7 separate regions of the Homo sapiens genome follow, and regions 2, 3, 4, 5, 6 and 7 are each linked to region 1. The links are contacts of gene promoters, found by promoter capture Hi-C in blood cells and fetal thymus (Javierre and others, 2016). All regions are on one chromosome and are shown on one strand. The core of a region is centred on a gene start or on the middle of the fragment in contact, and the rest is flanking DNA. Distances in the headings are between cores, read along the strand shown. Region 1 holds the start of FMR1-AS1 (FMR1 antisense RNA 1). Region 2 overlaps MTMR1 (myotubularin related protein 1). Region 3 has its middle 7.0 kb from the start of CD99L2. Region 4 overlaps EOLA2-DT (EOLA2 divergent transcript). Region 5 has its middle 6.6 kb from the start of MTM1. Region 6 has its middle 4.5 kb from the start of MAMLD1. Region 7 holds the start of MTMR1 (myotubularin related protein 1).

Region 1 (3,268 bases), core at 443-2,942:
GGAGCAAAGTTAACTCTCTGTACCTGAGATAAAATAACTAGCTAATAGGAATCCAGCTGAAAACCTTAAGGTGCAGGGCCTCTATGGGGCCCAGGAAGGATGTGTAGAGACATGAACGGATGAAAGTGCATCACAGGTTCAGGGAACAACACAGGTTGAGTGTGGCTTGTAGTAAAAATGGTTGTGAAGAGTTGACATATTTTTAAGCCCTGGGTAAATTGAACAACAGCTTACACTTGGAGGGGTATAATCATTCTAATCAATGTGTCCCCTTTTACTATAATACATTGGAGTTGCAGCTAATGCTCTGCTCCCATTCAGCCTATGATGAGATTCTCTTTCAGCCCTATTGGGTTCTTGGCCTCATGTGACTACTCCAAAGACCCTAGTCCAAAAGGTCTTTCCTGTTTGCTATGGCCTTGAGGAATGTGGCCCTAGATCCACCGCTTTAAAGCTGGAGTTCCACCAGCAGCAACATCCTCTCATTCTGGGGCACCTGCCTGGGGCAGGTCATCCTGCCTCTGCCAACTCAGTGCTATTAGTTAACTCTCACCTGCCATATTCCAGCTGGAATCATCTCCCCTTCTCCACCCCAGACTAGGTCATGTTCCGCCATCATGGAAGCGCCTATTCTTCATACCCCTTATCACAGCTGCAACTACTCATTTACTTGTCTGACAATTTGATTTATGTCCACCTACTTTGCTAGGTACTAAGTTCAATGCTGGCAGTCGTTTCTTCTTTTTTTTTCTTTTCTGTTTTGCTCACCGATTTCTCGTTAGCACTTAGCACAGTGTCTGGCACACGATAGATGCTCCGTCAACTTCTCAGTTGGATACCAGCATCCCGAAGGGAACATGGATTAAGGCAGCTATAAGCACGGTGTAAAAACAGGAATAAGAAAAAGTTGAGGTTTGTTTCACAGTGGAATGTAAAGGGTTGCAAGGAGGTGCATCGGCCCCTGTGGACAGGACGCATGACTGCTACACACGTGTTCACCCCACCCTCTGGCACAGGGTGCACATACAGTAGGGGCAGAAATGAACCTCAAGTGCTTAACACAATTTTTAAAAAATATATAGTCAAGTGAAAGTATGAAAATGAGTTGAGGAAAGGCGAGTACGTGGGTCAAAGCTGGGTCTGAGGAAAGGCTCACATTTTGAGATCCCGACTCAATCCATGTCCCTTAAAGGGCACAGGGTGTCTCCACAGGGCCGCCCAAAATCTGGTGAGAGAGGGCGTAGACGCCTCACCTTCTGCCTCTACGGGTCACAAAAGCCTGGGTCACCCTGGTTGCCACTGTTCCTAGTTCAAAGTCTTCTTCTGTCTAATCCTTCACCCCTATTCTCGCCTTCCACTCCACCTCCCGCTCAGTCAGACTGCGCTACTTTGAACCGGACCAAACCAAACCAAACCAAACCAAACCAAACCAGACCAGACACCCCCTCCCGCGGAATCCCAGAGAGGCCGAACTGGGATAACCGGATGCATTTGATTTCCCACGCCACTGAGTGCACCTCTGCAGAAATGGGCGTTCTGGCCCTCGCGAGGCAGTGCGACCTGTCACCGCCCTTCAGCCTTCCCGCCCTCCACCAAGCCCGCGCACGCCCGGCCCGCGCGTCTGTCTTTCGACCCGGCACCCCGGCCGGTTCCCAGCAGCGCGCATGCGCGCGCTCCCAGGCCACTTGAAGAGAGAGGGCGGGGCCGAGGGGCTGAGCCCGCGGGGGGAGGGAACAGCGTTGATCACGTGACGTGGTTTCAGTGTTTACACCCGCAGCGGGCCGGGGGTTCGGCCTCAGTCAGGCGCTCAGCTCCGTTTCGGTTTCACTTCCGGTGGAGGGCCGCCTCTGAGCGGGCGGCGGGCCGACGGCGAGCGCGGGCGGCGGCGGTGACGGAGGCGCCGCTGCCAGGGGGCGTGCGGCAGCGCGGCGGCGGCGGCGGCGGCGGCGGCGGCGGAGGCGGCGGCGGCGGCGGCGGCGGCGGCGGCTGGGCCTCGAGCGCCCGCAGCCCACCTCTCGGGGGCGGGCTCCCGGCGCTAGCAGGGCTGAAGAGAAGATGGAGGAGCTGGTGGTGGAAGTGCGGGGCTCCAATGGCGCTTTCTACAAGGTACTTGGCTCTAGGGCAGGCCCCATCTTCGCCCTTCCTTCCCTCCCTTTTCTTCTTGGTGTCGGCGGGAGGCAGGCCCGGGGCCCTCTTCCCGAGCACCGCGCCTGGGTGCCAGGGCACGCTCGGCGGGATGTTGTTGGGAGGGAAGGACTGGACTTGGGGCCTGTTGGAAGCCCCTCTCCGACTCCGAGAGGCCCTAGCGCCTATCGAAATGAGAGACCAGCGAGGAGAGGGTTCTCTTTCGGCGCCGAGCCCCGCCGGGGTGAGCTGGGGATGGGCGAGGGCCGGCGGCAGGTACTAGAGCCGGGCGGGAAGGGCCGAAATCGGCGCTAAGTGACGGCGATGGCTTATTCCCCCTTTCCTAAACATCATCTCCCAGCGGGATCCGGGCCTGTCGTGTGGGTAGTTGTGGAGGAGCGGGGGGCGCTTCAGCCGGGCCGCCTCCTGCAGCGCCAAGAGGGCTTCAGGTCTCCTTTGGCTTCTCTTTTCCGGTCTAGCATTGGGACTTCGGAGAGCTCCACTGTTCTGGGCGAGGGCTGTGAAGAAAGAGTAGTAAGAAGCGGTAGTCGGCACCAAATCACAATGGCAACTGATTTTTAGTGGCTTCTCTTTGTGGATTTCGGAGGAGATTTTAGATCCAAAAGTTTCAGGAAGACCCTAACATGGCCCAGCAGTGCATTGAAGAAGTTGATCATCGTGAATATTCGCGTCCCCCTTTTTGTTAAACGGGGTAAATTCAGGAATGCACATGCTTCAGCGTCTAAAACCATTAGCAGCGCTGCTACTTAAAAATTGTGTGTGTGTGTTTAAGTTTCCAAAGACCTAAATATATGCCATGAAACTTCAGGTAATTAACTGAGAGTATATTATTACTAGGGCATTTTTTTTTTAACTGAGCGAAAATATTTTTGTGCCCCTAAGAACTTGACCACATTTCCTTTGAATTTGTGGTGTTGCAGTGGACTGAATTGTTGAGGCTTTATATAGGCATTCATGGGTTTACTGTGCTTTTTAAAGTTACACCATTGCAGATCAACTAACACCTTTCAGTTTTAAAAGGAAGATTTACAAATTTGATGTAGCAGTAGTGCGTTTGTTGGTATGTAGGTGCTGTATAAATTCATCTATAAATTCTCATTTCCTTTTGAATGTCTATAACCTC
Region 2 (3,235 bases), core at 649-3,148, 2.8 Mb after region 1:
GTGTTAGGATTGATCTGATATTGAATGAAACTTAGAGGGCAAATGTGTTATGATTGATCTTGTTGGTTTTACTTAGAGGATTATGATGTTTCTTAGGGAATAGGCTGTTGAACTTAATGGCATCTTTCACAGGTCAATAGTAACATGTCCATGATGATGATATTCTGTATTTTAACTAACAGGTTTTCAGGAGGCCTGATCTAAGGGTAAGGATATTTGGCTTTCAGCGGATGGGCCTCCTACTTGTGTGTGTCTGTGCTTTATCGAACACTTAGTCTATTTAGTGTTCTTTACCTTCTCACTGGTTTTTATGAATCACTCAGATCAATTTGCTCTGCTGTGTTATAGCTTTCAGTGTTCACTAGAAACGCTTTATTTGTTACAATGTTTTCATGTGCAATAAAAGCCAATGTGTGTGAGGGCGGGATGCTAAAATTGTTACCAGTGTGCAATACTGACTTTTGTTGTACTACATGAATTATGACCAAATGGATATTCATGACTGGGGTTATAAGGCTGGGGCTACTGAGGTCTCTTTTAATCTTGTTTATTGTGTAATTCATGCTACAGAATTTAGCAACTAAAAAAAAAAAGGTTAGTTGGCTGTCCTATCTAAGTAAGATTTCAAGTCATGTTTGTGTTTGCATGTTGAATCCAAAAAAGCAGAAGTGCTAATCTTGAAGCTAAATTTAGCAAAATCAATCCCAGTTACTATTTTTTAAAATACAGATATAGTGGGTTACAGCTTATATTTTCCTCATGATTTTCCTTCCCTTTATTTCAGAACATTCATAAAGCAAGACAAAGATTGGTAATGTGCATGCATTTAACAGACATTGAAAATTAACCTATTTCTATTCAAGGAAAACAATGTGGATTTTGATAGTATAATAACTTCAGTTTAAAAGTTTTAATCTTATTGAAGCCAATGAAGTAGTACAAAAATAAGCAAGCTAAGTCTTGTTATTCTAGCTGGTTTTCCTTTGTTTAGTCTTGTTTTCATCATGTTTTCTTTTGCTTGTGGGAATCATTTTCTTTCATTGATTCACACTGTTAAATATTAGTGCTTGGCTTTACACTTGCATGAACTTTGAAATGTTGTATTTTTTGTTCATTGAGTTTTCTGTTTCTAAAAACTTAATTACTCGATTTTCTTTATATTTAAAAAATGGAAATTTCAAAAAACTGGCTGCACTGAAAAATTACACTGCCTTGAAGTATGCTAAACTATACCAACTGTGTACTAAATTCAATCTGATGATAAAATATAAAAGTACATTAAGGAGTTATTGTACTTTATTGACAAAAATGGAAGGTGGGAAATAGTAAATTCTTTTAAAGCTTTACTAGTTCTTCACTGGTTGCCTTTGTAAAAACGATAATCATTGCAACCAAAGTTTCATGAAGCAAAAATATATATAGGCTAAATTTTAATATTTTTAGCCTCGGAGACTTGATAGAATTTTAAAAAGAGATTACAATCTTGTCATCTTCAGTATTCATATTCTTTTTTACCAGCTGCTGAATAAAAAGCCCAATTTTTAAAGTTTCAAAAAATAATAGATTCTATAAAGAAATTAAGAACAGTATACCTTTAAAGGGATTGGAAAAAATTAAAGATGTGTGGCCTTTTAGCTGTTTCTTGGAAGTGCGTTGATAGAGTAATTAGAAATATTTAATATGATATTGAGTTATAAATCACAGAATTTAATTAGCAATAAGCAATAAGAAACAGACATGTATATATATGTGTGTATACACACACACACACACACACACACACATACACATATATATATAATCTCCAGCATGTGATATATGCATGTGTGCAGTGGAATTGATCCCTGAGCAATGTAATATGAATACTTACTGTGTTTAAAATACATGTCTATAAACTGCCTTTGTATTTTGGCTTGACTTTGCCCTTTACCAGTTTTCTGTGGTATGCTTTATTTTCTGTGAGCACATTATGTGCCTGTTATTTTGTTTCTTTGCTATATGCTGTCTATTGCTTGGTTTTGAAAAGACAGTACATTCTTTGAAATCCATGATGTTTGTTTGCTTTTCATTTTTCTACCCCAACACAAACACAGAATAGATACTCCATTTTAGGCTGTGGATGCTATAGATGGCCTACATGTTATTTCCTTAACTCCAAGGGGGAAAATGTTGTGATTTGCAAAGTCATGAAAGGTGTGTCGACTTTTACATGCTTACTGTCTCCTTAAAAAAGAAATTCTGTCCTTTCACCTGTCTGTTTGCACGTGTTTCTCTTTCTCCTCTTTGCCTTTTCTTGTCCATGCACCTGGTGCTGTGCAGGAGATTCAGGAAGAACACAATGGCTACCCTTCTGAAGCTGAAGCTGATCAGGTGGCAAGTTCTACGTGTTCATCTGTTTGTAGCTACAGATCGTGTATTTAGAAGCCATTTCATTCTAGACTTCTAGATAATAAGCAAAGCTTTCCAGATGCCTCTACCACAATAGTAGTGCCCTCCTGTCCAAATTTGGTAGATTCCATATGACATTATTTGCAAAAATTGGTTTATCCAACATTTTGTCAACTAGAAATTTGTTTGTCTGTGTTTCTTGGTTTGCCCAGATAGGGTTATTGATGGGGTTAATGACCCTCCATCACGGTAGGATTCTGCAGTGCCTTTACATAGACATAGAGGGGACAGATACATATGCTAAGGGTGCTCCTTGAGGGTGCACACTTTGCTTTCTTCAAATATGCATGATCTATGCCCAACACAGTACCTGGTACCATGTAGATATTTGTGGAATTGGTACATATATTAATCAGAATACAAAATTATTCATAGAGTATTCTTGAGTGCTTACTCTGCTCAGTACCTCTAGACCCTCTCTGGAGTCTTTTAAAGCTGCAGTACTTTCCCCAATGCTTATGTGAAACAAAGAGAAGAGCAGCTCCAGGGATGTGTGGCATGCCCCAGGTGCTCAGCTGCACCATTGTCCACCATCATCCAGCCCCACTCTCCTTTGGTGACCCTGGAAGCAACTTGAAGAGCCCAGTTTGAAAGCCACTGCTTTTGGCATGCAACCATTATATAAACTATCCACCTGGCGGCTTGGATTCAGGCTGAGGAGAAAAGTAGCGGAGAGGCCAGGGTTGTTGGGTGGGCTGGAGCCCTCAGGAACAAATTCAGGGAGCTGGCAGACTTCGGCTAGACCTTCAGGGTCACTGGAACAAAGTTGGGATGAGGTCATCAGAGG
Region 3 (3,380 bases), core at 286-2,785, 3.0 Mb after region 1:
AGAGACAGAGGTGGGGAAGGAGAGGGAGGAGGCAGTGCAGAAGTCCCGGGAATGCTTTGGCTGGGCTCAGGAGGAAGGGCGAGGTGGCGTGGAGACTCTCCTGCTCTGCCTGCTTGTCCCAGAAACAGCCCAGTGTGGTGGGTCAGGAGCAGCGGCTTCACAGACAGCAGGGTCATCTTCCATTGCCATGTTTCTGCAGAGCAGCACCCCCTACCACCACCACCACCACCAATCACTCCTGTCTTACATGCAGCAGAGTTGCTCACTCCCAAAGGGGACCCTCTGTAATGTAATGCAACAAATTTCAATGAGATAGGAATCATCTCATCTTTTTTGATTCCTGTTAGGATTCCCATTGGTGGTTTGAGGAATTTTCTTAACACACCAACGACCACACGATAGTGATGATATTGGCAATTATGGCCATGGTGACTATGATCCCAAAAGAAAAGAAGACGATGCCAAAGGCCGGTGGGTCACGACTTCGTTTTAAGGCTCATTATCACGGGAAGGCGTCCTCTTCCTTGGAAATCTAAATGCAGAACACCCAGCCATCTTCAGGAAGCCTGTGTGTGCCAAGTCAGGCAGGGCAAAACCTTATACCTGCATGTTTTCCTAATGTGAGAGACTGCTCTGTAAATTTCTTTCTAGTGCTCAGTCGAGTTAATATGGAATTTGCATAAGCACTTGGCAAGAAATAACGTATGTCTCTGTAATATTTCCGAGGCAGTATTTTCTCCTCCAAACCCTGACCTCTGTAGGAACGGGACTTAACATTTGCCTCCCAAATGCAGAGTAGGGCTGTATTTAACTTACCCAGTGAAGTCTCCCCTAAGCACTCAGGGGACTCAAACCACAGAAACCAACATTTGGTCTCTTTGAATTAAGTCTTTTCATATAATTGAAGCAGCCCAAGAAACCTCCCAGAAAATGTTTCGGAACACAAATGTGGAATGGGGCATCCAATTAACAGCAATAACATTTTGTTCAAAAATAACTTTTGCAGACATATTGCGATGTCCAAAACAGAACTGCCCATTGCTGGCCTCCAAACCACTCTGCTCCTCCCACAAGTGTTCTCCTATCTTAGTAAATGGCACCACCAATCTCCCAGTTGCTAGGGCCTAAACCTTGGAGGCAGAAGTTCCCCCCTCCCCTGGTCTCACTCACTCCATTACCAAATCCTGAGAACTGTGTCTCCTAAAGTCTTGAATGTGTACACTCATCCCTGCCCTGAATAACTGCACAACAGCCTCCTCCAGCCCGTTTTTTTTACCCAGCAACCACGGGAAGCTTCTTAAAAAGTAAATCAGATCATGTTGTTCCCTTGCTTAAAACCCTCTAGTCTCATGTCCCAGGCCTTCCATCTCACTCACAGTAAATCCAAATTTCTGTTCATGGTCTACACAGCCCCACATGATCTGATCAGGCCCCTGCCTCCCTATTTAATTCTTCAACTCATTCCAGCTTCCCTTCTACACTGCCTCCCGCCCCACAACCGTCACCTCCCTGACCCCACCACTCCACCTGTCTGGAATAACTTCCCTTCCTTCCTTCACCTGGCCGTTCCCAGTTTATCCCTCATGCCATAAAAGAACATACTGTTCCCAGCCTAGGAAAGGCTCAGGACCCATGCCTTCTACCCTCACAGACCCTATGCTGAGTCCACCTTAACACTGAGCTTTGAATCCAGATGTGAGTTCAACTTGCTTTGCAATTTGCTGTCTCCTCACACTGGTCCTGTTTCTCAACCCTAGCAGCATGACAGAATCTTTGAGGAAGCTTTTTTTTTTTTTTTTTTCATTTAAATTGAGGTAAAATTCATATAATATAAAATTAACCTTTAAATGTGTACAATTTAGTGGCATTTACTACATTTGCAATATTGTGCAACTATCACCTCCATCTAGTTCTAGAACATTCCCATCACCCCAAAAGGAAATCCCAGACGCATTAAGCAGTCACTCCCCATTAGCCCTCCCCCAGCCCCGGGCAACCACTAATCTTTCTGTCTTTATGGATTTTGCCTATTGTGGACATTTTGTATAAATGGAACCATACACTATGTGGCCTTTTGTGTCTGGCTTCTTTTGCTGAGCGTAATGTTTTTGAGGCTCGTTCATGTTCTACTATGTATCAGAATTTCATGTCTTTTATGGCTGAATACTATTCAATTGTATAATAATACCACATTTTGTTGATCCATTCATCAGTAGACAGATATTTGGGTTGTTTCCAATTTGGGGCTATTGTGAGCAATGCTGCTATGAACACGGATGTACATACAAGCTTTTTGGTGGACATGTGTTTTTATTTCTCTCGGGTATACACATGAATTGCTGGGTATCAGGGAAGCTTTGAAAACCACGTTTGCCAGGGCTCTACTCTCCAAGTTTTCAATGTACTTGGCCTGAGGTAGGATAAGGCATTCCTATCCATCTAAAAGCTGAGACCATGGCTGGGCAAACTAAGGCCAGTGGGCCAAGTCCCGCCCACTGCCTGTTTTCATGTGACCCCTAAACAAAGAACGGTTGAGAAAAATAAAAACGAAGAATATTTTGTGACACATGAAAATGATGTGACATTTACTTTTTAGTATTTAAGTTGAGAGGCCAAGGTGGGAGGATCACTTGAGCCCAAGAATTCCACACCAGCCTAGGCAACATAGCAAGATCTCATCTCTACAAAAAATAAAAAGTTAGCCAGGCATGGTGGTGTGCACCTGTAGCCCCAGCTACTTGGGAGGCTGAGGCAGGAGAATGACTTGAGCCCCGGAGGTCAAGACTGCAGGGAGCCACGATCACGCCACTACACTCCAGGCTGGACAGCAGAGTGAGACCCTGTAACCAAAAAACAAAAAAACAAAACAAAAAAGTTTCAGTATCCGTAGAGTGTTATTGGCACGCAGTCACACCCACTTGTTTACATACTGTCTATAACTGCTTGTGTGCTACCAGGTCAGAGTCGAGGAGAGGCAACAGATTGTATGGCCCTCAAAGCTGAATATTCACTATCTGGTCCTTTACAGAAAAAGTTTGCTGGCCCCTACCTTTGTCCACTCTCAGTCCTCTTGTTACTAGATCTTTCAGCAGTGGTGGGCATGGTTGATCACTCTCTACTGCCTGAAATACTTTCTTCAACTTGACTGCTGGAAACCCACTCTTTTCCAGGGCTGCCTCTCTGGAGCTTGGGGAAGTACTACTGGGGGTGGATCTGTGGGTTCCAGTGTTCAGCAGCTAAGGCACTTTCCCTCTCTCATTTGGATGTCAGTGGGACAGGGGAGGTATTAGTAGATCACTTCGTGGCTGTGGGCAAGTCACTCTTCTTCCCTGGGGCTTGTTTTTTTTTAAATTCTGTAAACTGAGTTGGTTGGATAAGAC
Region 4 (3,156 bases), core at 582-3,081, 2.0 Mb after region 1:
AGTGCTCTTTATAGACCTTTCTCTCTCAGATATTTCCTGAGTTTTTCATTCTAGAAATGCTGGAATCATATATTTGTAACTGAAACTAGTAATCTTCTTGTTCTTGAGTCTTCTTCATCTCTAAAGTGGACATAAAATACATACCTCTCGTGGTTGTTGTGAAGCCCGTGGCACTATTCATGGTAGAGCAGGTGATCAAAAGTCGCTTGCATCCTTCTGTCCAATTGGGAACAAAAGCTTTCATGTATAATTCTCACACCTCTCCCTTGGAATCAGACAATCTTATCAGAAAACCTAAAAATTTTTTTCAATCAATTTAGAAGTTTATTTTGCCAAGGCTAAGGACATGCCTGTGACACTGCCTAAGAAGGTCCTGGTGACATGCCCAAGGTGGTCAGGCCACAGTTTGGTTTTTAGGGAGATATAAGACATCAACTGATACATGTGAGATGTACATTCGTTTGGTCTGGAAAAGCAGGACAAATGGAAGTTGGAGGACTTCCAGGTCATAGGCAGGTTCAGAAATTTTCTGACTGGTATTAATAATTGGTTGAGTTATTATCTAAAGACCTGGAATCATTAGAAGGGAATGTCTGGTTTACGATAAGGAGTTGTGGAGACCACAGTTTTATCATGCAGATGAAACCTCCAGGTAGCAGGCTTCAGAGAGAATAGATTGTAAATGTTTCTTATTAGACTTAAAGAGTCTATTGTATCAGTCTTAAGGACAGTGTTCATGTTGATGGTAATGAGGCATGTCCGACTCCCCCTTCCTCATCATGTCCTGAACTAGTTTTTCAGGTTAACTTTGGAATGCCCTTGGCCAAGAGGAGGGGTCCATTCAGGTGGTTGGGGAGCTTAGAATTTTATTTTTGGTTTACATTCTTTCCTTCTGGCCAGGATTTGCCAGAGGCAACATCAATGGACAAACTTTTATTTTGTCCCATAGCATTGTGGAGGTGGTTTGGCTGCCTGCCCCAGGTCCATCCTGTCCCTTGGTAGGATCTCTATGGCCAAGAGACTTACAGCCAAAAGACTTATAGACAGTTTAAATGTTCTAGGCCAGACAGGAATGGACGTGGACAGGCATTTATTACTCCTTAACAATTTTGAAGTAATGTAAAAGCCAACAAACAGAAAGTAAAAGGCGAGGTTACAAAATTGCCTTATCTATCTTTAACTTCTATGCATTGAGCTACTGTAGTCTTGGTTTTAGTTACAGATTTTTAGCAATTGGCTATATAAGCAAGCCTAAATTTTAAAAAGAAGAGAAAATGAAGCATACATTTAAAAGTTCTTAAACTTTTTTTTTGAAACAGGGTTTCACTTTGTCACTCAGGCTGGAGTGCAGTGATGTGATCATAGCTTTCTGCAGCCTTGACTTCCGGGCTCAAGTGATCCTCCCACCTCCGCCTCCTTAGTAGCTAGGACCACAGGCATGCACCAGCACACCCAGCAAATTAAAAAAAAATTTTTTTTAAAGATGAGATCTCACTATGTTGCCCAGGCTGGTCTGAAATTCCTGTCCTCAAGCAATCCTCCTGCCTTAGCCTCCCAAAGTGCTGAGATTACAGGCATGAGCTACCATGCCTGGCCTAAAACATTTTTAATGGAAGTATAATTTGCAAACAGAAAACATGCCCAAATATTAAGTGAATGCACTGATGAACATTCACAACTTAACAAGATAGCCAGCACTTAAATCACAAAATAGAACACCGCTAGGACCTCTTTGTAATACCCTCCAAGTCACTACTTCTGCCCAAAGGTAATCGCTATTTTGCAACATTTTTTATTACTTTATATAAATGAGATCGTACACTGCGTAATCTTATTACTGTCTGGATTTTTATATTAAATATTGCTTGTGAGATTCATCCATGTTGTCATGTCAGCAATACTTTATTCTCATTGCCATATACTATTCCATTTTTATCAGTATACCATGATATATTTACCCATTCTGCTATTTGTACATACTGGAATTGTTCCCAGGTTTTTGTAATACAAGCAAAGCTGCTATGAACATGCTTGGATTTACTTTCTTTGGTGAATATGTATTACTGTTATGTACATGTCTAGAGGTAAAATTGATGATTTATGGGATATGCATATGTTTAATTTTAGCAGATATTGAAAAACAGATTTTTAAAGCGGCTGTAGCAATTTACATTACCACCAGCAATGTGTGAGTTCCATTTGCTCTCCGTCCTTGACAGCACATGTTGTCACTTAGGTGGGTATGCAGGGGGATCCTTTTTTGGCATGTTTACTTATTTTTTTACACAGTGCAAACTGGTGTGGTGTACCGTTTTATGGCTTTTGCCTAATGCCATCACTAAAGTTACCAAACAATTCCATCACCTCAGAAATTGCTTTGTACCGCCTCTTGGCATTCATCCCCTTCTCCATTCTCAACCCTGGCAGCCACTGATCTAATTTCCATTCCCATAGTTTTCCAGATTATCAAAGAAACAGAATGATATGGTTGTAACCTTTTGGATGTAGCTTCTTTCAGGTAGCAAAATGCTTTTGAGATTTAACTATGTTGTTGTGTTTTCAGTAGTTCATTCCTTTGTGTGTGTGTGTGATAGTCTGACTCTCTTGCCCAGGCTGGAGTGCAGTGGTGTGATCTCAGCCCACTGCAACCCCTGCCTCCCACATTCAAGGGATTCTCATGCCTCAACCTCCCAAGTAGCTGGAACTACAGGCGTGCACCATTGCGCCTGGCTAATTTTTATATTTTTAGTAGAGACAAGGTTTCGCCATGTTGACCAGGCTGGTCTCGAACTCCTGGCCTCAAGTGATGCACCTGCCTCTGCCTCCCAAAGTGCTGGGATGACAGGCGTGAGCCACTGCACCCAGTCCAGAAGTTCATTGCTTTTTATTGCTGGGTCATATTCCATTGTATAGATGTATCACATTTTGTTTATGAGTCCTATAGTTGAGGGATACTTGGTTTGTTTCCATTTTTTCTCTATTATGGATACATTGTTATAAACATTTGTGTACAGGGTTTGTGTGAACATAGTTTTTATTTCTTTTGAGTAAATAGGAGTGGGATTGCTGGGTTACTTGGTAAATTGCTGGGTTATAGTTCTTTTTGAGAACTTGTCAAACTTTTGCTGAGTGGCTATACCATTTTGCATTCCCACT
Region 5 (3,013 bases), core at 222-2,721, 2.7 Mb after region 1:
TTGATTTGCATTTCCCTATTTTAATGGAGTTTTTTGTTGTTGACTTGTAGGGGTTCTTTTTTTTTTTTTTTTGAGACTGAGTCTCGATCTGTCGCCCAGGCTGGAGGACAGTGGCGTGATCTCAGCTCATGGCAAGCTCCGCCTCCCGGGTTCACGCCATTCTCCTGCCTCACCCTCCCGAGTAGCTGGGACTACAGGCACCCGCCACCACACCCGGCTAATTTTTTGTATTTTTAGTAGAGACGGAGTTTCACCGTGTTAGCCAGGATGGTCTCGATCTCCTGGCCTCGTGATCCGCCCGCCTCGGTCTCCCAAAGTGCTGGGATTACAGGCGTGAGCCACCACACCCAGCCGGGGTTCTTTATATATTCTGGATATTAATCCTTCATCAGATATGTGATTTGCAAATATTTTCTTACATTCTTTAGGTTGCATTTTCACTCTTTTGTTTCTTTTGACGCACAGAAGTTTTAAATTTTGATGTACTTCATTTATCTACTTTACATTTGTTGCTGTGCTTTTGGTGTCATAGCTAAAAAATGATTGCCAAATCCTGTCAAGAAGCTTTCCCCTGTGTTTTCTGCTGAAAGTTTTATAGTTTTAGCTCTTACATTTGGATCTTTCATCCATTTCCAGTTAATTTTTGTATATGGTGTATGGTTAGGGTCTAACTTCATTCTTTTGCATGTGGATATCTGGTTTTCCCAACAGCATTTGTTGAAAAGATGCCCTCTCCCCATTGAATGGTCTTGGCACCTTTGTCTGAAAATCATTTGACCATATATTTTAAGGTTTCTGTCTGGTCTCTTTATTCTATCCCATTGGTATAAATGTCTGTCTTTATGCCAGTATCACACTATTTTGATTACTATAGGTTTGTAAGGTTTTGAAATCAGGAAATGTGAGATCTCCAACTTCATTCTTCTTTTTCAAGATTGTTTTGGCTATTTGGGGCCCCTTGATTTTCATGTGAATTTTATGATGTATTTTTCTAGTCTAAAAATAAAATATCTCTGCTGTTGAGATTTTGATAGCGACTACATTGAATTTGTGGATCACTTTGGAATGTATTTACATGTTAACAATATTGAGTCTTCTAATCCCTGAACACAGCTGTCTTTCCATTTATTTGTGTCTAATTTATTTTAGCAATATTTTGCAGTTTTCATTGTAAAAGTCTTTTGCCTCCTTGATTAAGTTTATTCCTATTTTATTCATTTTAATTAATCTTAAATAACACAATTTCGTTCAGGTTCAGCAAATATTTGCTGACATTCAGTTTTGTTTTTGTTTTTGTTTTTTGAGGCAGTCTCACTCTGTCACCCAGGCTGGAGTGCGGTGGTGCAATCTCGGCTCACGGCAGCCTCTACCTCCTGGGTTCAAGCGATTCTCCTGCCTCAGCCTCCCAAGTAGCTGGGATTACAGGCACCTGCCACCACACCTGGCTAATTTTTGTATTTTTAGTGGAGACGAGGTTTCACCATGTTGGCCAGACTGGTCTCAAACCTCAAGTGGGACCTCAACTGATCCACCTGCCTTGGTCTCCTAAAGTGTTGGGATTACAGGCATGAGCCGCTGAACCCGACCTCAGGTTTTTTTAATCTTTTATTTTTTCCCTTCTCATATATTCTCTCTTGGTTTTAATCTTGGGTCTACAAATCTGTGTTTGAGAAGTAGCATACTACACACCTCAACATGAATCAGGCCCTTCAAATAAAAGATAAAGCTCTTTTTAAAAAGCCTGTTTTGAGTAAAACACACTTGACTGTATCGTGAAACATTTCCTCATAGGGCTTACTTTCTTAAAAGTTATTTAGTGTAACAACTGAGGTTTCTTTTATTTTTATCTTATTTAAGTCTTTGTAATTGGGGGTAGAAGGAGAGGATCTTGTGAGTTGGGTTTAGTTTTATTTGTGATCTGACTGGGGCAATTTTGTCATGGTGTTGCCTGTGGACTAGACTTCAAAGTCCTCGGTGAATACCCTATATGTGCCTAGTGATGAAGGAAGCAAACAGGACTGGCACTTGGAAACATTGTGATGTCATGACCATAAGCCCTTTGTGCTGGCCCCGGTGTCCAAGAAGCCCTGAGACAAAGAACCTGGGTTTCTCTCTGTATGTGTTTTCATGTCCCATTACTTGGCTCAAACTTCCATCTAGCACCTGGCAAAATAGAACCTGCTGACCAGCGGGGCCTCCTCAAGGAGGCTCCAACTTAACATTGAGCTCTGTGAGAAAGTGGAAGCAAAATACCAGTGAGAAGCAATAGCAGTCTCGTCTGCCCAGGAGCAGAGTGTACAGGTTGGCTTTCACGGTCTCCTGGAGCCCCACTGCACATGTGCCTGCAGATCACTGGCAGCTCCCAGAGAGAAGCTGGGGGAAGCTTCTGATCCCTGGGGCCCACAAGGGTAATGCTCTCTCTGTCTGGGATGTAGATCCCAGGTCTCCTGCATCCAGGTAAGCTCTCTCTGTCCTGCCCCCATTAGGCTGGGCTCTGTCTTCTCCTGCTTCGGGAATGATAGAAATGTTCTATTTCTTGATTGTGATGGTGAACAGACTGGGTAGCACATCCTTGTTATTTTCACGGCAAGCATCACCACTCTCTCCCCTTCAAGACCCCAGTCCTCTTAGAAAACAACCAACCCACCAACCAACCAAAAAGAGATAGACAATTCTGGGCAGCCTTAGGAATCTTAACTGAGGCTATGTCTTCTTGTCTTCTTCCCATGCTTAAATCTCAGCTTTTTTTTTTTTTTTTTTTTTTTTTTTGAGACAGAGTCTTGCTTTGTCACCCAGGCTGGAGTGCAGTGCAGTGATCTTGGCTCACTGCAACCTCTGCCTTCCGGGTTCAAGCGATTCTCCTGACTCAGTCTCCTGAGTAGCTGGGACTACAGGCACGTGCCACCACACCTGGCTAATTTTTGTATTTTTAGTAGAGACGGGGTTTCACCACGTTGGTTAGGCTGGTCTTGAACTCCTGACCTCGTGATCTGCTTGCCTCGGCCTCCCAAAG
Region 6 (3,238 bases), core at 415-2,914, 2.4 Mb after region 1:
CATTTGTTTCTATTGTGTTTCTTCAACATCCCCAAGAATATTAAAATTGTTCAAGAACACAGCAAAAAGAAATAAGTCAACTTGTTTCCCAGTGGCTCTCCTCTGCCCCACCGGGGCAAAATGCCGATGTGTCCTCTGTGAGTGCCCCAATCTGTTTCCTTACCTGGCACAGACTCATCTTTTTTTTTGCCAGACATATCAAGCACTTGCAGAGTGTTCAATATCACAAGATGTTTTGAACGTACATGCAAGACCTGAGCTTTTGTCCGAATACTTTTCATTTGATTAGGTTCAAGGCTGGCTGCCTCTTGTCTTTTAGGGTATGTAGGATAACAATCACGATAGCATCCTCTTCTCTGAGGGCTAATGACTCATGGGGTAGACACCTTGACTAGGGTGGTCCTGTCCATGACAGAACTAAAACCCTGACTACACACCAATAAGGCCGTTACTACTGTGACTCCATTTTGGAAATGAGACCTGTGAGGCTCAGGAGGTTGTACAGCTGGGAGACAGCAGAATCTGGGTGTACACCAGTGCCTTTTGCCTCCCAGATCAAGTTCACTGCACTTCCTCTGCATGGGGTAGTCGTCACCCAAGGCCTTCCCAAGGGCACTTGTCCGTCCTCATTCCTGTGTTCCTGTTGGTTGTGGCTTCCAGCAAGCTGTGGTCAGAGAACTCAGGTTCCCTGGGGCTAGGACTCTGTGCAGATGAGGAGTCCACAAGCCCTGAGCCAATGCCCCAGGAGCCTAGAGCTCAAGAGCCTGGGGGTGGGGGTCTCTGGCTTTGCTGAGGGCCTGGGGTGTGGCATCTGCCTGGCTGAGTGAGGCATGGGTGTAGGGGGCTGGGAGCCAAGGGAGCAGGTGGACGTGGTGGCCTCCAGTTGGGCATTGGCTAATGGCCTCTGAGCATTAGAGGTGAAGTGGGGGATGCCAGAAGGTGCTGGCCACATCCATCATCTCACTTTCTCTCTCTGGATTCATATTCTGCCATCCAGAGGGTACCCTGAACACCCCCCAACACACACACCCACTGCAGCTGAGGATTAGCCATGGGTCCATCAGGGAGGCTTTGGGGAAACCCCAAAAAGCACTGTTAAACTGTGAAACAAGGAAGAGCTGAGGACAAAGGCCTACGGTGTCAGAAAAGGACAGCTAGGGCTGAGGATGTCCAAAGGAGGGAGGGCACCTGTGCTGTGATGGGACTCAGGACAAGCTTCATTGAGGAGAAGGCCTTTGAGATGAGCCTTGAAGGCCAGGCAGGATTTTTTTTATATATATAGAGATGGGATCTCACTTTCTTGCCCAGGCTTGCCTCGAACTCCTGGGCTCAGACGATTCTCCCTCTTTGGCTCCCCAAAGTGCTGGGATTGCAGGCGTGATACACTGTGCTCAACCCAGGCAAGATTTTGAAAGGAGAGCTGGCATGGGGAATATATGAGCAAAGGGGCAGAAGTGGGAAGAACCAGGAATTGTTAGGTGTCCAGTCAGCAGTCCAGCCAAGCAGGAGACCCAGGTGCATGTGTGAAAGTACCAAGAGAAGAATCTAGAAGTAAACAGAGACTGGTGCTCACTATGAAGGGCCTTGCATGTCAAGCTGAGATGTTGGGATTTAGTGCTGTCAGCAGTAGAAAGCCGCAGGAGGCTTTTGAGCATGGGAGTAATGAGAAATAGAGTCACTGGATGTGTATTTCCTCTTTCCAGTCAACATGTGTGTTCTCCATGCGCCCCTACCTGCGCAGGCCACACCCAGAATTCCAGAGGCTGCCCAGTTAAGTCCCAGTATTTGTCAGATGAACTTGGGAAAACTTGCCATCTGTTCACAAGAATATGACTATAAATGACAGGTGGCTGATGATTGTATTTTTCAAATCCATTGAGCTCCAGGTTTGGGTCAGAGCAAAGACAGGGCTCATATCAGCCCCGGCATGGTATCTCTGGACCCCAATAGCCTAAGCCCAGCTTTTTGTTTAGCAACCACTCAGCAAAAGGACCAGGAGTTCCCCTAGGAGGACAGCTCCTTGAAACCCCATGGTATTCTTTTCCTTGCCTGGACCCACAGGCCAGGACTGCACACACTAAACATGGGTGGCCACATAGCAAGTGGAAATGGCCCAAGCTTTGAGGCCCAATTGCTTTACTGCTCTACCACTCATGGGTTGTGTGCCCCTGGATATGTGCCTCTACCTCTCTGAGTGTCTGATTTCCTCATTTAGAACATGGAGATAATGATCAACACCTCACTGGGGACACGGACCCTGCACGTAAAGCACAGGCTAGTTCTACGTTAATGGAGGAAGATGTGCTGCTGAGCTCCAGACTTGGTCTTGCATTTTGGGTGAAAAAAGGGCCCTGGCTCTCAGAGCCAGTCTACTCAGTGAAGAGAAAGCCCTCACCCTGCCTCTGTCTCCGGCCTCCTCTCCCATTTGTCCATCAACCTTGGGATACCCTAGGTGACAACCACAAGGAAACCTCTTTCCACCAGTAACTGAAGGAATCACTCTCTGTACCTTTGTGACTGCCTGTAAGACTGCCACCAATGCATGTGTGCCACACTGCCCCTTGGTGACATGACCCGAAGCTGGTTTCATGTCATTAACACAAAGCTCTTTGCCTGCCCTCTAGCCTTCTTAACCTTTGTTTAGGTCATGAACCACCTTCAAATGTGATGACATCTATGGGCCCCTTTTCCAGTGGGTGTGTACAGTGCAGTGGCCCCCAGAGTTTCCTGAAAAGTTCCAGGAAAGCAGAATCTACTAACATTCATTGAACAGATACTCCATGCCAGGCACCGTGCTGGGAGCTGGGAAGACAGCAGTGAACAAAACAGACGCTGACTGCTACCCTCTTGGGATCTAACCTATAGAGGAGGTCAGCTAGCGGTAAGCGCTAAAGAGAAAACAAAGCTGGGAAGGAGAGAGGAAGTGCCAGAGATGGGCGTGGGGCTTTGAAATGTTACATAGGGTGGCCAGGTGACATTTGTGTCAAGACTAAAGGAAATGAGGGAGCCAGCCCATAGATATCTTGGGGAAGTGAATTCCAGCCCAAGGGAACAGCTAAAGCAAAAGTCCTAAGTAAAGCAGGAATGTATCTATGTGTTGAGGAAGAGTTGGGAGGTCTGTGTGGCTGGAGCACAGTGAGTGGAGGGAAGATGACGTTATTGAGATAGTGGAGGGACATGCCTGAAGGGCCCCAGAGGCCACTAGAAGCACTTCAGTTCTACTTTGAGTGCAATGGGG
Region 7 (3,068 bases), core at 54-2,553, 2.8 Mb after region 1:
CTCTGGTGACCCTTCTTAAAAAGCACCAGTTCCATCAGACTAGAGCTTGGCCCTCATGACCTAATTGCCTCTCAAAGACCCCATCTCCAAATACCATCACACAGGGAATTAGGGCTTCAACATATGGACTTCAGGGGGATGAAAACATTCAGTCCATAACAGTGGGTTAACCATTTGATTTAATAATTTTAGAAAGCCAGCAACCTGCAGTCGGTGATTCTCCAGTGTGAGATAGGAGCTATTATTGTCTGGGGATCTTCCTTTCCTTCCTCCTAGCCCTCCTCACTCTGTCATCTTCTTACCCCAGGCTCACCTCCTCTTGTGCGTAAGATGGCTGTCGGGGCTTCAGGCATCATATCCTCAAAGTTCAGTTTGAAGTTATTAAGCTGGTGGGGCAGGATGGGTCTGGGATGGGCATGAGTAACTCCCTGTCTGCAGATCTGCCTTTTAACAGTGAGCAAATTGTTCCCTTTATATCTTCTTTTCCAGACCTGGGTCGCAGGCCTCCTGTCTACACCCAGAGCAATCACAGGCAAAGAGGCTTAATCACGAGCCACACACCCACTCCCAACTTAATCAGGGGTGAGGTGAGAGGGGATGAGCTGTTGGATATTCGAACCCAAACAAAATGAGCAAGGAAATAAATCTAGCCCAGAAAGCAAATGTCCTAAATGCCTCACCAAGATATTGGCTTGATGTTCATAGCAGTGATTTTTTAATCAACAGAAGTTAAATGTTACTCTTAACATAAACCATGGGCGGAAGCTCCGAGGGCGGCATCAGAACACTTGGTTGCCCTACAGATGGCAAGGGGGTGGGTTTGTGGCGGGGCGGCGGGGTGCGTATGGAGGGGGAGAGTGGAGGGAAGAATGGGGTGGGGAGGAATTGCTAAAATGCACGGAATTGCTCCTGCTTCAAGATGTCAAGACCGAGGGAGCTTGAGCTGTTCTATACCTTTTCCGGGAAGGACAACTGAGGTGGGAAATCATTTTTGATACTTGAATGTCTTCAAACTTCTTTTTACACCCCACGTCTCTGCAGTCAACCCGGTGTGACTATAGAGTGAAGCACGCTACGCATAATCCGTTTGGGGATTCCGAACCCCAGTGGCTCTGTACGCACCCAGGTCGCTGGAGCAGGAGGTCCCAGATCCCCGCTGTAAGGCTCCGTGGGCGAGCGCCCAGGTGGGGCTGGGCGAGGTGGGGGTTCCCGGCGCCGGCCCCGCGCGCCGCCCTCCCCGCCCCCGCTCCCGCCCCCCGACCCCCGCGCGCGCGGCCTTGTGGGTAACGCGGGGCCGCCAGGTGACAGCTAATGGCGGCGGCCGCCTGAGGCGGGCGGGCGGTATAGAGCGGGCGGCAGGAGGCAAGCAGCGAAACCTTCCCGGCCGCCGCTCCCGTCCCGACGGCGGCTTCCCCAAGGCGGCAGGACTCGGCGCGCCATGGACAGGCCGGCGGCGGCGGCGGCGGCGGGCTGCGAGGGCGGCGGGGGCCCGAACCCGGGGCCGGCGGGCGGCAGGAGGCCTCCTCGGGCCGCGGGGGGCGCCACCGCCGGCTCCCGGCAGCCCAGCGTGGAGACCCTGGACAGGTAAGCGGGGCCCGGGCTGCCCCGGCCTCCCGCGCCCCGACTCCCGAGGGCCCCGCGCGAGGCCAGCCCGCCCCCTCCCCGCGCGCTGCGCAGGGCCTGGCGGTGGCGGGGTGGGCGGCCCCTCTTCATCCCCTCTGGGCCCTCCTCCCCCCCACCCCCGGAAACCTCAGCGCCCCATCCGGGGACTGCTGCCCTCGGACCTGCTGCGGGCCGCGCACCTGGCTCACTTCCGCCCCGAGAGCCCCAGCTCCTGGAACCCCGGGAGGGGCTTCGCAGCTGTCAAACCACTTCCGGCGCCGCCACCTGCTGCCCTTGGCGATCGCTTGGCTGTCCCTGCCCAGGCCACCAATCCTCTTGGGAGGGAGATCCCACCCGGGCTCTCCTCTTCTAGCATCACCTTGCCTCGTGTGGTTTTAAGACCCCAATTCTGCTGTGGCTGCTTAGGGTCTTTGATGGGGGGTTGGGAGTGAGGACGGGGAGATGGGACCCCGCGGGCGTGGGAGCTGGTGCAGATCGAGGCAAAAATCTGAGATGGAAAACGTCCAAACTGCTCAGGAGGCAAGAAAACAGAACCATTTACTTTCAGTTCTTCACACTTTGAGGGAACCAGTTTATTGTTTTCATGAACACACAAGCAAGCCTACTGCTTCTGAGGCAGCTGCAGAACTAAGAGAAATCAGTTAGAAACATAAAGTGACCGTGTCGAACTGGGAGGGGCCACCGCCTCCTCCGACGACAAGAGATGGCCTATCGTGTAACCCGGAACATCCAGTTTTCCCACAACTTGGCCATTTCCCTGACACCAGAGTGCACTCAGGCAGCATGCACTGTTGGAATGTAGCTCAGTCAGTTTTACATGCCCATTCCTGCCTGTCTTGGTCATCCCATTGTGCCAAACTTTTGGGAGTTTCCAAAAGCACAGAAACAAGAAACATTCCCTTCACTTTTGTTTCTACCTCAGTGTAATTACAATATATTTTAATAAATTAATCACCCAAGTGGTTAGTGTCACTGAAAACCAGTCACAGCTAAGACAGCACTTGAAATGGTGAGGACTTCACTCATCTGCAAATATTCAACCACACACGAGGTCTGGGCGATTCAGAGAATAGCACAACACGGCTTTTGCTGCCTTACCATTTTGCTAGACTTACCATCTAGTGGAGAATACAAACCAACCAACAGTGGAAATCGAATGTGATAAATGAGATAGGTGGTAGAGGCGAACACAGAAGTACTCAGGATGGGCATGCATCAGAATCATTTAAGAAGCCAAAGGAGACCAGAATGTGTCACCCCCAAATATGCCTCATCTTCTGGTTTCCTTCAGAGATTTTGATGATCAGGGAAAGCCTGAGAAAGCTGACATTTGAGTAATGCCCCCAAAGAGGCGAGGGATCCAGCCATACAGATACCTGGGGGTGATAGTATTCTAGTCAGAGGCCTGTGCAAAGCCCCTGAGGTGAATGTGAGCCAAGTGTTCC

The links. The method cuts DNA at HindIII sites, captures the fragments that hold promoters and counts their contacts. A CHiCAGO score of 5 or more calls a contact.
Region 2: a fragment that was not itself captured here is called in contact with the fragment with the promoter of FMR1-AS1 in region 1 in 1 of 17 cell types (neutrophils); the score reaches 5.9 in neutrophils.
Region 3: a contact is called between a fragment that was not itself captured here and the fragment with the promoter of FMR1-AS1 in region 1, in 4 of 17 cell types (non-activated CD4 T cells, total CD8 T cells, activated CD4 T cells and 1 more). The highest score is 6.1, in non-activated CD4 T cells.
Region 4: a fragment that was not itself captured here is called in contact with the fragment with the promoter of FMR1-AS1 in region 1 in 2 of 17 cell types (total CD8 T cells and activated CD4 T cells); the score reaches 7.7 in total CD8 T cells.
Region 5: a contact is called between a fragment that was not itself captured here and the fragment with the promoter of FMR1-AS1 in region 1, in 1 of 17 cell types (total B cells). The highest score is 7.1, in total B cells.
Region 6: a contact is called between a fragment that was not itself captured here and the fragment with the promoter of FMR1-AS1 in region 1, in 1 of 17 cell types (activated CD4 T cells). The highest score is 5.6, in activated CD4 T cells.
Region 7: the fragment with the promoter of MTMR1 here is called in contact with the fragment with the promoter of FMR1-AS1 in region 1 in 3 of 17 cell types (total CD8 T cells, non-activated CD4 T cells and total B cells); the score reaches 11.5 in total CD8 T cells.

The regions. Positions count from the first base shown.
Region 1 is chrX:147,910,125-147,913,392 of GRCh38, forward strand. It overlaps FMR1-AS1 (FMR1 antisense RNA 1), which reads right to left and starts at 1,693. Exons shown (of 2, transcript NR_024503.3): 1 at 1,518-1,693; 2 at 1-871. It overlaps FMR1 (fragile X messenger ribonucleoprotein 1), which reads left to right and starts at 1,795. Exons shown (of 17, transcript NM_002024.6): 1 at 1,795-2,106. The coding sequence starts at 2,056. RefSeq lists enhancers at 1,326-1,535, 2,116-2,215 and a silencer at 1,616-1,955. The HindIII fragment of the contact is 5,224 bases long and covers 1-3,268 here.
Region 2 is chrX:150,712,160-150,715,394 of GRCh38, forward strand. It overlaps MTMR1 (myotubularin related protein 1), which reads left to right. Exons shown (of 16, transcript NM_001306144.3): 3 at 183-206. Among named protein-coding and RNA genes, the nearest start is that of MTMR1, 20 kb to the left of the region's middle. The HindIII fragment of the contact is 1,118 bases long and covers 1,340-2,457 here.
Region 3 is chrX:150,903,959-150,907,338 of GRCh38, forward strand. No RefSeq gene overlaps it. Among named protein-coding and RNA genes, the nearest start is that of CD99L2, 7.0 kb to the left of the region's middle. The HindIII fragment of the contact is 489 bases long and covers 1,292-1,780 here.
Region 4 is chrX:149,951,031-149,954,186 of GRCh38, forward strand. All of the region lies in intron 7 of EOLA2-DT (EOLA2 divergent transcript), which reads left to right. Among named protein-coding and RNA genes, the nearest start is that of EOLA2-DT, 14 kb to the left of the region's middle. The HindIII fragment of the contact is 3,193 bases long and covers 236-3,156 here.
Region 5 is chrX:150,560,564-150,563,576 of GRCh38, forward strand. It overlaps a transcript of MTM1 not described here. Among named protein-coding and RNA genes, the nearest start is that of MTM1, 6.6 kb to the right of the region's middle. The HindIII fragment of the contact is 1,819 bases long and covers 563-2,381 here.
Region 6 is chrX:150,357,164-150,360,401 of GRCh38, forward strand. No RefSeq gene overlaps it. Among named protein-coding and RNA genes, the nearest start is that of MAMLD1, 4.5 kb to the right of the region's middle. The HindIII fragment of the contact is 903 bases long and covers 1,214-2,116 here.
Region 7 is chrX:150,692,093-150,695,160 of GRCh38, forward strand. It overlaps MTMR1 (myotubularin related protein 1), which reads left to right and starts at 1,304. Exons shown (of 16, transcript NM_001306144.3): 1 at 1,304-1,584. The coding sequence starts at 1,439. RefSeq lists silencers at 1,235-1,304, 1,615-1,754 and enhancers at 2,648-2,747, 2,768-2,847. The HindIII fragment of the contact is 7,697 bases long and covers 1-3,068 here.